3 separate regions of the Homo sapiens genome follow, and regions 1 and 3 are each linked to region 2. The links are contacts of gene promoters, found by promoter capture Hi-C in human tissues and cell types (Jung and others, 2019). All regions are on one chromosome and are shown on one strand. The core of a region is centred on a gene start or on the middle of the fragment in contact, and the rest is flanking DNA. Distances in the headings are between cores, read along the strand shown. Region 1 overlaps NUB1 (negative regulator of ubiquitin like proteins 1). Region 2 holds the start of ASIC3 (acid sensing ion channel subunit 3). Region 3 has its middle 19 kb from the start of NUB1.

The links. The method cuts DNA at HindIII sites, captures the fragments that hold promoters and counts their contacts. A contact is called where the count stands out against the background at its distance.
Region 1: a contact is called between a fragment that was not itself captured here and the fragment with the promoter of ASIC3 in region 2, in 1 of the 25 tissues and cell types used here (neural progenitor cells).
Region 3: a fragment that was not itself captured here is called in contact with the fragment with the promoter of ASIC3 in region 2 in 3 of the 25 tissues and cell types used here (adrenal gland, bladder and pancreas).

The regions. Positions count from the first base shown.
Region 1 is chr7:151,361,042-151,364,607 of GRCh38, reverse strand. The region is part of intron 8 of NUB1 (negative regulator of ubiquitin like proteins 1); the gene reads right to left. Among named protein-coding and RNA genes, the nearest start is that of NUB1, 21 kb to the right of the region's middle. The HindIII fragment of the contact is 4,144 bases long and covers 1-3,566 here.
Region 2 is chr7:151,047,266-151,050,989 of GRCh38, reverse strand. It overlaps ASIC3 (acid sensing ion channel subunit 3), which reads right to left and starts at 2,459. Exons shown (of 11, transcript NM_004769.4): 1 at 1,571-2,459; 2 at 734-884; 3 at 382-509; 4 at 37-232. The coding sequence starts at 2,104. ABCB8 (ATP binding cassette subfamily B member 8) reads right to left here. Exons shown (of 16, transcript NM_007188.5): 16 at 3,208-3,724. RefSeq lists an enhancer at 309-947. The HindIII fragment of the contact is 19,092 bases long and covers 1-3,724 here.
Region 3 is chr7:151,320,976-151,324,714 of GRCh38, reverse strand. No RefSeq gene overlaps it. Among named protein-coding and RNA genes, the nearest start is that of NUB1, 19 kb to the left of the region's middle. The HindIII fragment of the contact is 5,298 bases long and covers 1-3,739 here.

The sequences.
Region 1 (3,566 bases), core at 285-2,784, 310 kb before region 2:
GGTTGCAGTGAGCCGAGATCGTGCCATTGCACTCCAGCGTGGGCGACAGAGCGAGACTCCGTCTCAAAAACAACAACAACAAAAATTAAATCCCATTTGAGCTTAAGTCGGTTATTTAACAGAAATTTATTATGTTTGTCTTACAGTTTTTTTGTTTTTTTTTTTGTTTTTTTTTGTTTTTGTTTTTGAGACGGAGTCTCGCTCTCTCCTCCAGGCTGGAGTGCAGTGGTGCAATCTCGGCTCACTGCAAGCTTCGCCTCCCGGGTTCCTGCCATTCTCCTGCCTCAGCCTCTCAAGTAGCTGGGACTACAGGCGCCTGCCACCATGCCCGGCTAATTTTTTGTATTTTTAGTAGAGACGGGGTTTCGCCCTGTTAGCCAGGATGGTCTGATCTCCTGACCTCGTGATCTGCCTGCCTCGGCCTCCCATAGTGTTGGGATTACAGGCGTGAGCCACCGCGCCCGGCCAGGCTTACCTTTCTTGAAATTAATATTTATTTAACATAAAAATTTTAGGCCAGGCGCGGTGGCTCACACCTGTAATCCCAGCACTTTGGGAGGCTGAGGCGGACGGATCACCTGACGTCAGGAGTTCAAGACCATCCTGGCCAACATAGTGAAACCCCGTCTCTACTAAAAATACAAAAACTAGTCGGGAGTGGTAGTGGGCACCTGTAATCCCAGCTACTTGAGAGGCTGAGGCAGGAGAATCGCTTGAACCCAGGAGGCAGAGGTTACAGTGGGCGGAGATTGCAGTAAACTAAGATTGCGTCACTGCACTACAGCCTGGGCGACAGAGTGAGACTCCGTCTGAAAAAATAAAATAAAAAAATAAGCCAAACTTACCTAACTTTTTTCAAGAAAGGTTAGCTAAAAAGTCATTTTCAATTTTATTACTGGTTTTAGGGAATTGGATTATAGTGTGCTGTAGTGTAGTTTTTTTCTGATATTTCTTGTACTTGGGGTCATTAAAGTCATTGCATCTGGGGGTTTATAGTTTTCATCAAACTGGGAAAAATTAATGGCCATTTTTTTCTTCAAGTATTGTTTCTGTCCCACATGTCTGCCTTTCCAGGGACTCCAATTACATGCATTTTAGGCCGCCTGAAATTGTGCCACAGCTTGCAGATGCTCTGTTCATTTTTTTTTTTTTTTAGCCTTTTCTCTGTTTTTTCAGATAGTTTCTATTGCCTTATGTAACATTTAACTAATCTTCTCTTCTATAGTGTCTATTCTGCAGTTCATCCCACCTAATGTACTTTTCATCTTGGATGTTGTACTTTTCATCTCTTACATTCTAATGTGGGTCTTTTGAATGTCTCCCATGTCTTTATCTGACATGTTCAGTTGTTCCTCTGCCTTCTTCAGCAGATGGATTACAGTCACTGTTTTAATGTCCTTGTCTACTAATTCTATCTTCTGTGTCACTTCTGGATCTGTTGCTACTGACTGATTTTTTTGCTTGTTATAGGTTACATTTGCTTGTTTCTTTGCATGCCTGCTAATTTTTCAGTGGATGCTGGATATTTTTGAATTGCTAAATTATTGAGTTTTGTTAGGGATGCACTTATTTGAAAACGGTAAGTTAAGGGTACTGTTCAGGAGTAGCTTTTAAGCTTTGTTAAGTGAAACCAAATTATGCCCTAGTGCTGAGGCAACACCCTTCTGAAGACTCTATTTGACGCCCTGTGACTACCAAATCCTCCACTCTGGCTGGTGGGAACATAAACTATTCCTGGCCTTCTATGAACTCGGAGGATTATTCCCTGCTTCTTTCATGTGGTACCTTGCCCAGCCCTGGGCGGTTTCCTCACACACATGTGCTGATCATTACTGAGCAGAAGACTCAAAAGGGCTCCTCTGAAGCTCTCTGACACCCTCTCTCTGGCAGCTTGCTCCTCTCACCTCCTTGGCCTCCTGCAAGCCCAGCTCCATCTCTTTAACTCCAGGGAGCACAAGGCTCTGCCTGGGTTTGCCCTCCCTGCCCCGTAACCTGAAACTTCTCCAGACACTGAGCTCCCCTCATGTTTCCCTACCTCAGGGTCACCGTTCTGCACTGCCAGGAAGTCACTGTTTCATACAATTTGGGGAAAGAAACTATTCTTGGTCATACTACATACCATACTCCAAGACATATGGTAGGAAGTTGTGACAAAACTTCTAGCTTACTTGGAGAAGTAAGGGGGAAAAGTCAAATGGAAAAGGAAATGGAAAAACTGAAGTTTCCTCCATCTGCATTCTATTTGGCTTACATTACTGCTGATTTCCTTTATGAAAAGAGAGAAATCACACACACACAAAAATATGCTAACAAGTTGGCCAGGATAAATAGATGCCCAGGATAAATAGATGCCCAGGAAAAAAAAAACTTTCTCTACTTAGAAAGACATTGTTAATTATTATTTCATTATTATACCTACCACTTACCGGACATGTTAATGTATCATGAACTGAAGATGTAGCCAAATTTGTATTCAATGGTTCCCTGAGACCTAAAAATTATTTCAAGGATTTGTCCAGGATAAAAAGATTGAGGGAGGCTCACACAGATGTATGAAGATCAACCATGTCTTTATAACTGCAGAAGCTTAGTTATGAGTGTATATGGAAGCTCATTATACTAATTTTTATTTTTATGACTATTTGAAATTTTCCATAATAAAAAATTAGAAACAACTATGGAAGGGAATGAAAAATTTACCTAAACTTTTAGGACCTAATTTAAAGCCTGTTTACCCTACACTGTTTGCAGAAGAGAATGAAACTGACATCCAGAAAGAGGCAGAGACAGAGACCCCAGAAGCACAAACCAGCCCTCATTCTCACTATTCCCAGCCCGGCCCCTCCCCTCCCAATTCCTTTTTTGTGTACGTTAAAGTTGGGACTTGTTCACTTAGAACCCAAAGGCACTGACCAATGGAAAACTATAAATATTTGCATTCATCTTCTGGGAGTATACAGTATTATCTTGGGAATGCACCAAAACAGAAAAGAAGTTAACACTAAATTTGTTAACTTTTGACCATTTTCAAAAAATCAAGTCTACTTTTCAAATGTTGAATATGTCTGCATCATAGTCTCTTAGTACCGTTTCCCATGAAGAGGAACCAGGACTCCTTGGGAAATTGCTGATTCCTGGTCTGGGCATTAAATGCCCAAGATGAGCCTGGAGTATCTTTGGATTCCAGAAATCAGAGACTGCAAAGACTAGCAGGGTCAGGTCAAAAAAACATGGGCTGCCTGCCAGCCAGCATGACCAATTTAAGCACTGAAGTTTGAAACACATCAAATGTTTTAAATCCATGAGTTAATAATGACACTTAAGAAAATGAAAAGAAAAAGAAACCTCTTTGGTCACCTTTGGAGGGTGATAGTGAAGCAACTCATTTATTCTGAAAACAAGAAAATAAGGAGAAAGAAACAAAGTATTTTATTCTAACTTTCCTATACAAATTGTACCTCCACATATAAAATAACTGATGAGCAAAAACAAATTTTTCAGAATTCCAGCAATAAATGCAGAAGGGAGGCTGGGTGCGGTGGCTCACACCTGTAATCCCAGCACTT
Region 2 (3,724 bases), core at 1,210-3,709:
CCTGCCCGCCATGGGACGAAAACCCCAGCCCCTCACCTGGCATGTACACCATTCGGCAGCCGCACTTCCGAGCCACGTAGCGGGTTTCGCAGGCCAGGCGACACCCCATAAGGGTATAGGGAGGGCTGGGGCTGGGGCTGGGGGAGCCTAGGGGATCAGAGGGCTCTGGCTCATAGTTGGGGTTCAGAGATGCTGAACTGCAATCGCCCCAGGGCGGTGGCAGGAAGCTCAGCTGTGGGGGGACAGGGTTAAGGAGGCTTCCCGGAGAGCGTGAGAGGCCAGCTGGGGAGAGGCCCCTAGACAGGTCTGAGGAGCTGAGGGTTTAGGGTCTGAGGTGGTGTGGGCTTGAAGTAGTAGGTGTGGAGGCACACGGAAGGGTACCTGCTGCTGCTGGCAAGAAACAAAGGTCTGGTAGCCCGGGGACACCCCCAAGCCCAGCTGATCGATGATGGGCGGCTCCTCCTGGCTGTGGATCTGCACTCGGATCCCCACCTCAAACGGGGTCTCCTCTGTCGGGGAGGGACCTGTGAGGCCTGACCTGTGTGGTCAGGTCTCCTGCCCAACCAGACAAGACCTCTCACTGCAGCCCCTCTCCCCAGGACTGGGATGAGCCAGCCCAGCCCCTTTCACAGGTTCTGGGGGAACACCCTGACACCTCCTCTCCTCCTCTCCTTCCCCTAGCCTTTTGCACTCCATCCGTGCCCTCCCCCAGCCTCATTTGTGTGCTCCCTACCATTGTCCCTCCACACAGGTAGATATTCCTCCTGCTGCACGTCCAGCATGATGTCCAGCCCATTGCCCATGCCACCCCTAGTAGTGGTGAGCAGCTCTGCCCCATCAGCGCCAGAGTTAAATGTGTAGCACTTTCCCATCCGGGTGAAGATCTGGGGCGGGCAGACAGGGTGATGGCCATCTCCCCCAGGCAGGCACATGGTCATGGGACCTCTCCCCACCTCATGGTATGTTTGCGTCTCTTCTTTGAATACTGAAGCCCGCATCTCAATGCCCCCAGCCCCACGCTCCAGTGGGCACATGTTGCAGGACGCTCTTGGGAGCCCATCAACTCAGCTCCTCCACCCCGCCAATCCCCACCAAAGCCCAGGGCACAGCCTACAGGTTTTTCTGTGTTTCTCTGGGAACTGCAGGAAAAGGAAATGGGCCCCTGTGGCTGTCCTCCGGGGCTGGCAGTATGTTGAAAAGGCAGAGGGAAAGCAAGCCCCCCCCACCTCCTGGCAGAGATAGGGGTCTTCTGCCCCAGAATGGTCCCACCATGGAGGACCCCCAGCCCCAGGAGCAGGGCCTCCCTGGGCCAGACCTCAGGCCTAGGGCCAGCCGGGGTCAGTGTGGCCTCACATGCTCCCCTCGGGCTGGGAGACAGAGAAAGCCCCAAGGAGGACAGCTTCCTGGGCTGCACGGAGTGGCACTGGGGGGTGGGGAGTCCATGGCTGGTAGGAAGGAAGAGGTCCCCTGGCTTTGGGGGAGCCTGTGCTGGCTAGGGAATTGTGGGTGCTGGGCAGGGACTGGTCGGCTCTCTGGGTCCCTGGCAGGATAGGTAGGGAGGTCAGCTCACCGTGGTGAAGTTCTCAGGCCCACAAGGTTGGCCACGGAAGCGACAGTCCAGCAGCATGTCATCCAGGGAGTGCCCAGCACGGGCATAGAGTTGCGCCATGTCAAAGGTGGGACTGGGCATGAAGCCGGGCGGTGCAGGGGGCCGGCCCAGGGCGCGCAGGAAGGCGGCGTGCTCTGCGGGATCCAGGCCCAGCAGCGCAGACCCAGCCCAGTGCAGGTCGTTGGGCGTTAGGCGCGAGCGGCGCAGTGGGTTGATGTTGCACAGGGTGACAGCCGGGAAGATGAGCCGGTGGCTTTCTCGCTCATCCAGGGCAGTCTGGTGGTGGAACTCCCTGTAGTAGCGCACCCTCTCAGCCACCTGGTAGAGGAAGGTGGCCACTGACAGGACCACGGCCGCTGCCCACATCCCCCGGCGCAGGCTCAGGCTGCCTGGCCCGAAGACGTGGCCCAGCCCGTGCATCGAGCAGTTGCTGGCGAACACGCGGATGTCCGAGGCTGGCCGCCGGGCCTCCTCTGGGCCTGAGGTGGGCTTCATGGCCAGAACCCAGGAGCGGAACCAGCTACAGAGGCTTGGAAGAAGCGAGAGAGAGTCAGTCAGGGGGCTAAGGAGGCTAAGATAGGATTCAGGAGGCCAGGCAAGGAGAGGAGAAGAGAGGGTGGGAGACAGCCAAGGTTGGAAGGCAGGGAGGCACTAGCCTGGCAGGATTGGAGGAGGTGATCTGGCCGGTCAGGTCCCACTGTTCCTTCCCGAGGAACAGGCGGTGGCTCCACTGGGCTAGGCACTGGGCTGGGGACTCCGCAGCAGACCAGGTGGGACGTAGCTGACCGTGGCAGGCAGGGGCTGCGGAGCGGTGCTGAGCCGGCGGTGCTGAGCCGGCGCTGCTGCAGAGGATTGGGTTTCAGCAGTAGGGGGGAAAGGGGGCCGACAGAGCAGTCTGGGGGGTAGGAGAGGTCCCTAGGGCCCCAGGCTGAGCCATTAGTGCAGCATGGAGGGGGGCATGGCTGTCCAAGACGAGAGGCGCCAGGAGGAAACCGCAGTAATCCTAGGGAGAGCTTGAGAAAAGCCCAGAGGTAGATTGGGCCTGGAGATGCCTTGGGGCCCCCTAGGCTCCCAGTTGCAACCCCTGTACACTGGCCGCGAGGGTCAGTCGCTGACCCCTGGCCTAGCTCCTCTCTCCTTTTGCCTCTGCGGCCTTCCCTCTAGCTTCACCCAGGATCTGTTCCTTCACGAATACCAGAGCTGGCTCTTGGCCAAGCTGGGAAATGGTTGGAAGGCTGGCATCAGCAGATCTCTTCTTTCTGTGCCCCTAGCATCTCAGCCTACACTGGATGGCCAGGGCACTCTTCATGTCCCACTTCCAGGGCCCGTCTGTTTCCTAAGTGTCCCTCTCTCCCTAGGGAGTCAAAGCCTACCTCCCCACACTCAGGCCTCTGAGGATGTTGGCCTCTACAATGGTTATGGGCTCACCTGCCACCCCAGGTAGAACATGGGTGCCCCACCTGCCACCCTCCCGGGTACCACGGGTACCCCACCTGCCATCTCAGGCACAACATGGGTATTCTGTGATTTCCCATCTTACGCTGCTATATCCAGGACCTGGAAAACCTACATTTTTCCAAAGGGCTGCATACCACCCATTATGTGCACATACCATAGTTTATTTAATGACTCCCCCACTGATGGGCACTGGGGGTGTCCAGTCTTTCCATTACAAACAATGTTGCCGTATCATCACACAGATGTGAACTCCCAGGACTTTGGTGGGCTTTTTTTGACCATGAGTGGTAGAAACATGGTTCCACCAGCCAAACGTGTGCACACACCATGCTGCAACTGCTGGGCCACCTGTCTGTCCTCCCAACAGGACACAAGCTTCATGGGGGCAGGGACTGTCCTCATTCCCCATCGTGGGCTCAATGGCACATGACAGGTGCTTGATTAATAAACACTTTGGAAGGACTGAGTACCATGGTTACAGCACAGGCGTACCAGCTCCCCAGAGCCACAGTGCCATGCTTTGCAAGTATTTACTGTAGATGATCCCACTCACACTCTCAAAACAGGCATTCAGCATCAAGCACAGCTAGGCTCCCACTCTCCACTGTGGAGCGAAGGCCGAGGCGAGGTTAGGAAGACGGCGCGGCTCCTGCGGTC
Region 3 (3,739 bases), core at 49-2,548, 270 kb before region 2:
AATTAACTCAAGATGGATTATAGAACTAAATAAAAGAGTTAAAACTATAAAACTCTTAGAAGAAAACAAATGAGTAAATCTTCATGATCTTGGGTAAGGAAATAGTTTCTTAGCTACGGCACCAAAAGTACAAATGACAAAAGAAAAATTAGGCAAGTTGGACTTTATCAAAATTTAAAACTTTTGTGCTTCTAAAGACATCATCAAGAAAATGAGAACACAGGCTGCATGCTGTGGCTCATGCCTGTGATTCCAACACTTTGAGAGGCTGAGGTGAGAGGATCACTTGAGCCCAGGAGTTTGAGACGAGCTTGAGCAACATAGTGAGATCCCATCTCTACAAAAAAATACAAAAATTAGCCAGCTGTGGTGGTGTATGCCTGTACTCCCAGCTACCTTGGAGGCTGAAGTGGGAGGATTGCTTAAACCCAGGAGGTTGAGGCTGCTGTGAGCCATGATTATGCCACTGCACTCCAGCCTAGGCACAGAGCAAGACCCTGTCTCAAAAAAAAATGTGAAGACAATTCGCTCTATGGGAAAAAATATTTGCAAATCATGTATCTTAGCAGGGACTTAGATCCAGAATATACAAAGAACTCTAAAGATCAAATAGGCTGGGTGCAGTGGCTCATGCCTGTAATCCCAGCACTTTGGGAGGCTGAGGCAGGTGGATCACCTGAGGTCAGGAGTTCGAGACCAGCCTGGGCAACATAGTGCAACCCCGTCTCTACTAATAATACAAAAATTAGCTAGGTGTGGTGGGATGCACCTGTAATCCCAGCTGCTCAGGAGGCTGAAGTAGGAGAATTGCTTGAACCTGGGAAGTGGAGGTTGCAGTGAGTTTAGATCGTGCCATTGCACTCCAGCCTGGTCGACAAGAGTGAAACTCCATCTCAAAAATAAAAATGAAGATCAAATAATAAAAAGACAACCCAACTTTTTTAATATTCAAAGGATCTGAATAGACATTTCTCTATAGAAGACAATGGCCAACAAGCACATAAAAAGATGCTCAACATCATTAGCCATTAAGAAATTGGGAATCAAAATCACAATGAAATAACATTTTGCACTCCTTAGAATGGTCAGAATAAAAAGGAAAGGCGTAGGTGAAAATTTGGAGAAATCAGAATCCTTAAACATTGCTGGTAAGAACAAAATGATACAGCTGCTATGAAAAACAGTTTGGCGTTTCTTCCAAAGGTTAAACTTAGAGTTACCATATGACCCACCAATTCCACTCGTAGTCATATGCCCCAGAGAATTGAAAACTTATGTTCTAACACAAAAACTTATACACTAATGTTCACGGCAGCATTATTCATAATAGTTAAAAAGTGAAAACTATCCAAATGCTCATTAACTGATTAATAGAATGCAATAATATTCCATGTAATGGAATATTACTCCACTGAAATTCCATATAATGGAATATTACTCCATTATTCTTTTCCATACAATGGAATATTGTTTGGCAATAAAAAGGTATGAAGTACTGACACATTACAACATGAATTAACCTTTAAAACAGTAGAAGAAGCCAACCAAAAGAGACCACATTTTATATAATTCCATTCTTATGCAATGTTCAGGCTAGGCAAATCCATAGAAACAGAAAGTAGATTAGTGGTGCCAGGGACTGGGGGAGGTAATGGTGAGTGTGGGATGGAAAATTTCTAGATAATTAGTAATATTTTCATTTCTATTGAGTTTGCACAACATATTTTGGAAATAGAATTGGATCTGCTTGAGGGAGCACCTTGTCATTCCCTCAGTAAAGCCTCCTCCTCTTCAGTACACAAGGCCTAGCAATTTTCAAAGAAAGGAGATAAGTTACACTTAATAACTGAAACTCCACTGAACATATGCTGATTAACATGTCCCTTAGAAAGCAGAGGGCACTTCAGACTTCTCCGGTATCCAGGGCCCACTATTATCAGTTGCGTTGCACTGAACCAGTTCCCCTATTCATCCTCTACATGTATCAACCCTGAAGTCCTGACCACGTTTCCATTGCACAGTTCTTGGTGTTTTGCTCTCTCTCTTTTTGCTCTGTCTACAGTCAAATCCAGTTTGTCATTTCACACCTGGGTTCATTCCATAAGCTCTTGATCGTGTATGGGATCCTTGAGGTGTCGCTTTTCTGGTCGGAAACCTGTGGCTCATGGCACCTTTGGCTGAGTTTTGCTCAAGCCCACGGGGCTCTTTCTGCCCACTCGGCCTGACCGGCTGCACTCAGCTCATGCCAGCAGCCTGGATCCCATGCCTCCAAGAAGACTGCAAGTCAGGTGTGGAGCGGCAAGGGGTGTATGAGTGAGTATGGGGTCCGGACACTGCACAGTCAGATATGCTGGCTGCTGCCACAGGATGGGCAGCTCCAGGCGCTGGCATGGGCACTGGCTCTCTGCAAAGCTGCAGCTGGACCAGGGGCCCTGTAAGCAGCTTCCCTGGCTGGCACTGGGGAATGAAGTGGCACCTAGAAGCTTGGAGATGCCAGGAACCACAGGGCCCCAAAGAGGGAGTCACAGGTCTGGGCTCCCTGAAGGTCCGCAGCTCTTCTCTCCTTTTCGCCCACAATGTGGCGAGCAAGGGGCATATTTCAGTCTTGTTTGTGTTAGAGCTCTTTTAGCCCTGCCATACAATGGGTCCTAAGTACTTGTCCTGTGACCAGAAGAATGAGGTACACCAACAAGTGGAGGGTAAGCAAAATGAGAGGAGCTTTATTGAGCAATAGAACAGCCCAGCCTCCCACAGTGGGCAGCTCCTTTCCACAGCCAGGGTGTCCCAATGAGTGTTCAGCTCCTAGCAGAGAGGAGACTCTGGAGTGAGAAGCTCCTCTCTGCAGACAGGTTGTCCCATCGTTTCTGCAGCTCTCAGCAGAGAGGAGGCCCTAGAGTGGGTTGCTCCTCTCTACAGGTAGGTCATCCCATTGTCTTCCCAGCTCTCAGCAGAGAGGAGGCTCTGGAGTAGGTTGCCGCTCTCTGCAGGCAGGTTGTCCTGTCATCTTCCCAGCTCTCAGCAGAGAGAAGGAGTGGGTTACTCCTCTCTGCAGCTGGTCATCCCAACATCTGCTTGAGTCTCAGCAGAGAGGAGGCCCTGGAGTGGGTAGCTCCTCTTTGCAGCTGGTCATCCCAACATCTGCTTGAGTCTCAGCAGAGAGGAGGCCCTGGGGAGGGTAGCTCCTCTCTGCAGCTGGTCGTCCTGACATTTTTCTGCCCTCTGCTCTGCTCTAGCTGAGCCCAGGGCTTTTATGAGCCTCAGAGGGGAGGAAATGCATGCCAATTGGTCCATGGGCGGCCATGAGTGGGCCCAGAAAAGGCACAACAGCCCCCACTCCAGTCCATGGGGACTGGCAGCCCAGTCCCCAGCCTTCAGACCCTCCCTGGCCTGAAGGTGGGGCCTCACTGGAGACCTGCCGCCTTCCACCCAGGAGCCTGTCTGCCCCCTGCTGCTGTCCATGGAGCCCAGGCTGTTCATGCCAAGGGACACCTGCAGGCTAGTACCAAACCTCCCTCAATCCCCACCTTGGCTTCCCCACAGCAATGCTTCTTGGTGCCCAAAGTCCAGAGGGAGCTGAGGCAGCTTGGGGGGCTGGCATGTCAGTGGTGCCCCAAGAACCCCAGCCAGGCTGTGACAGTGCCCGGGCTTGGCCCCACATTGCTCCAAGATTGAAGCAGGTGCTGACAGCAGGTAGAATACAGGCAGTGGGAGCAGGAACTTCTGAGCCTGCAAGGGTCAG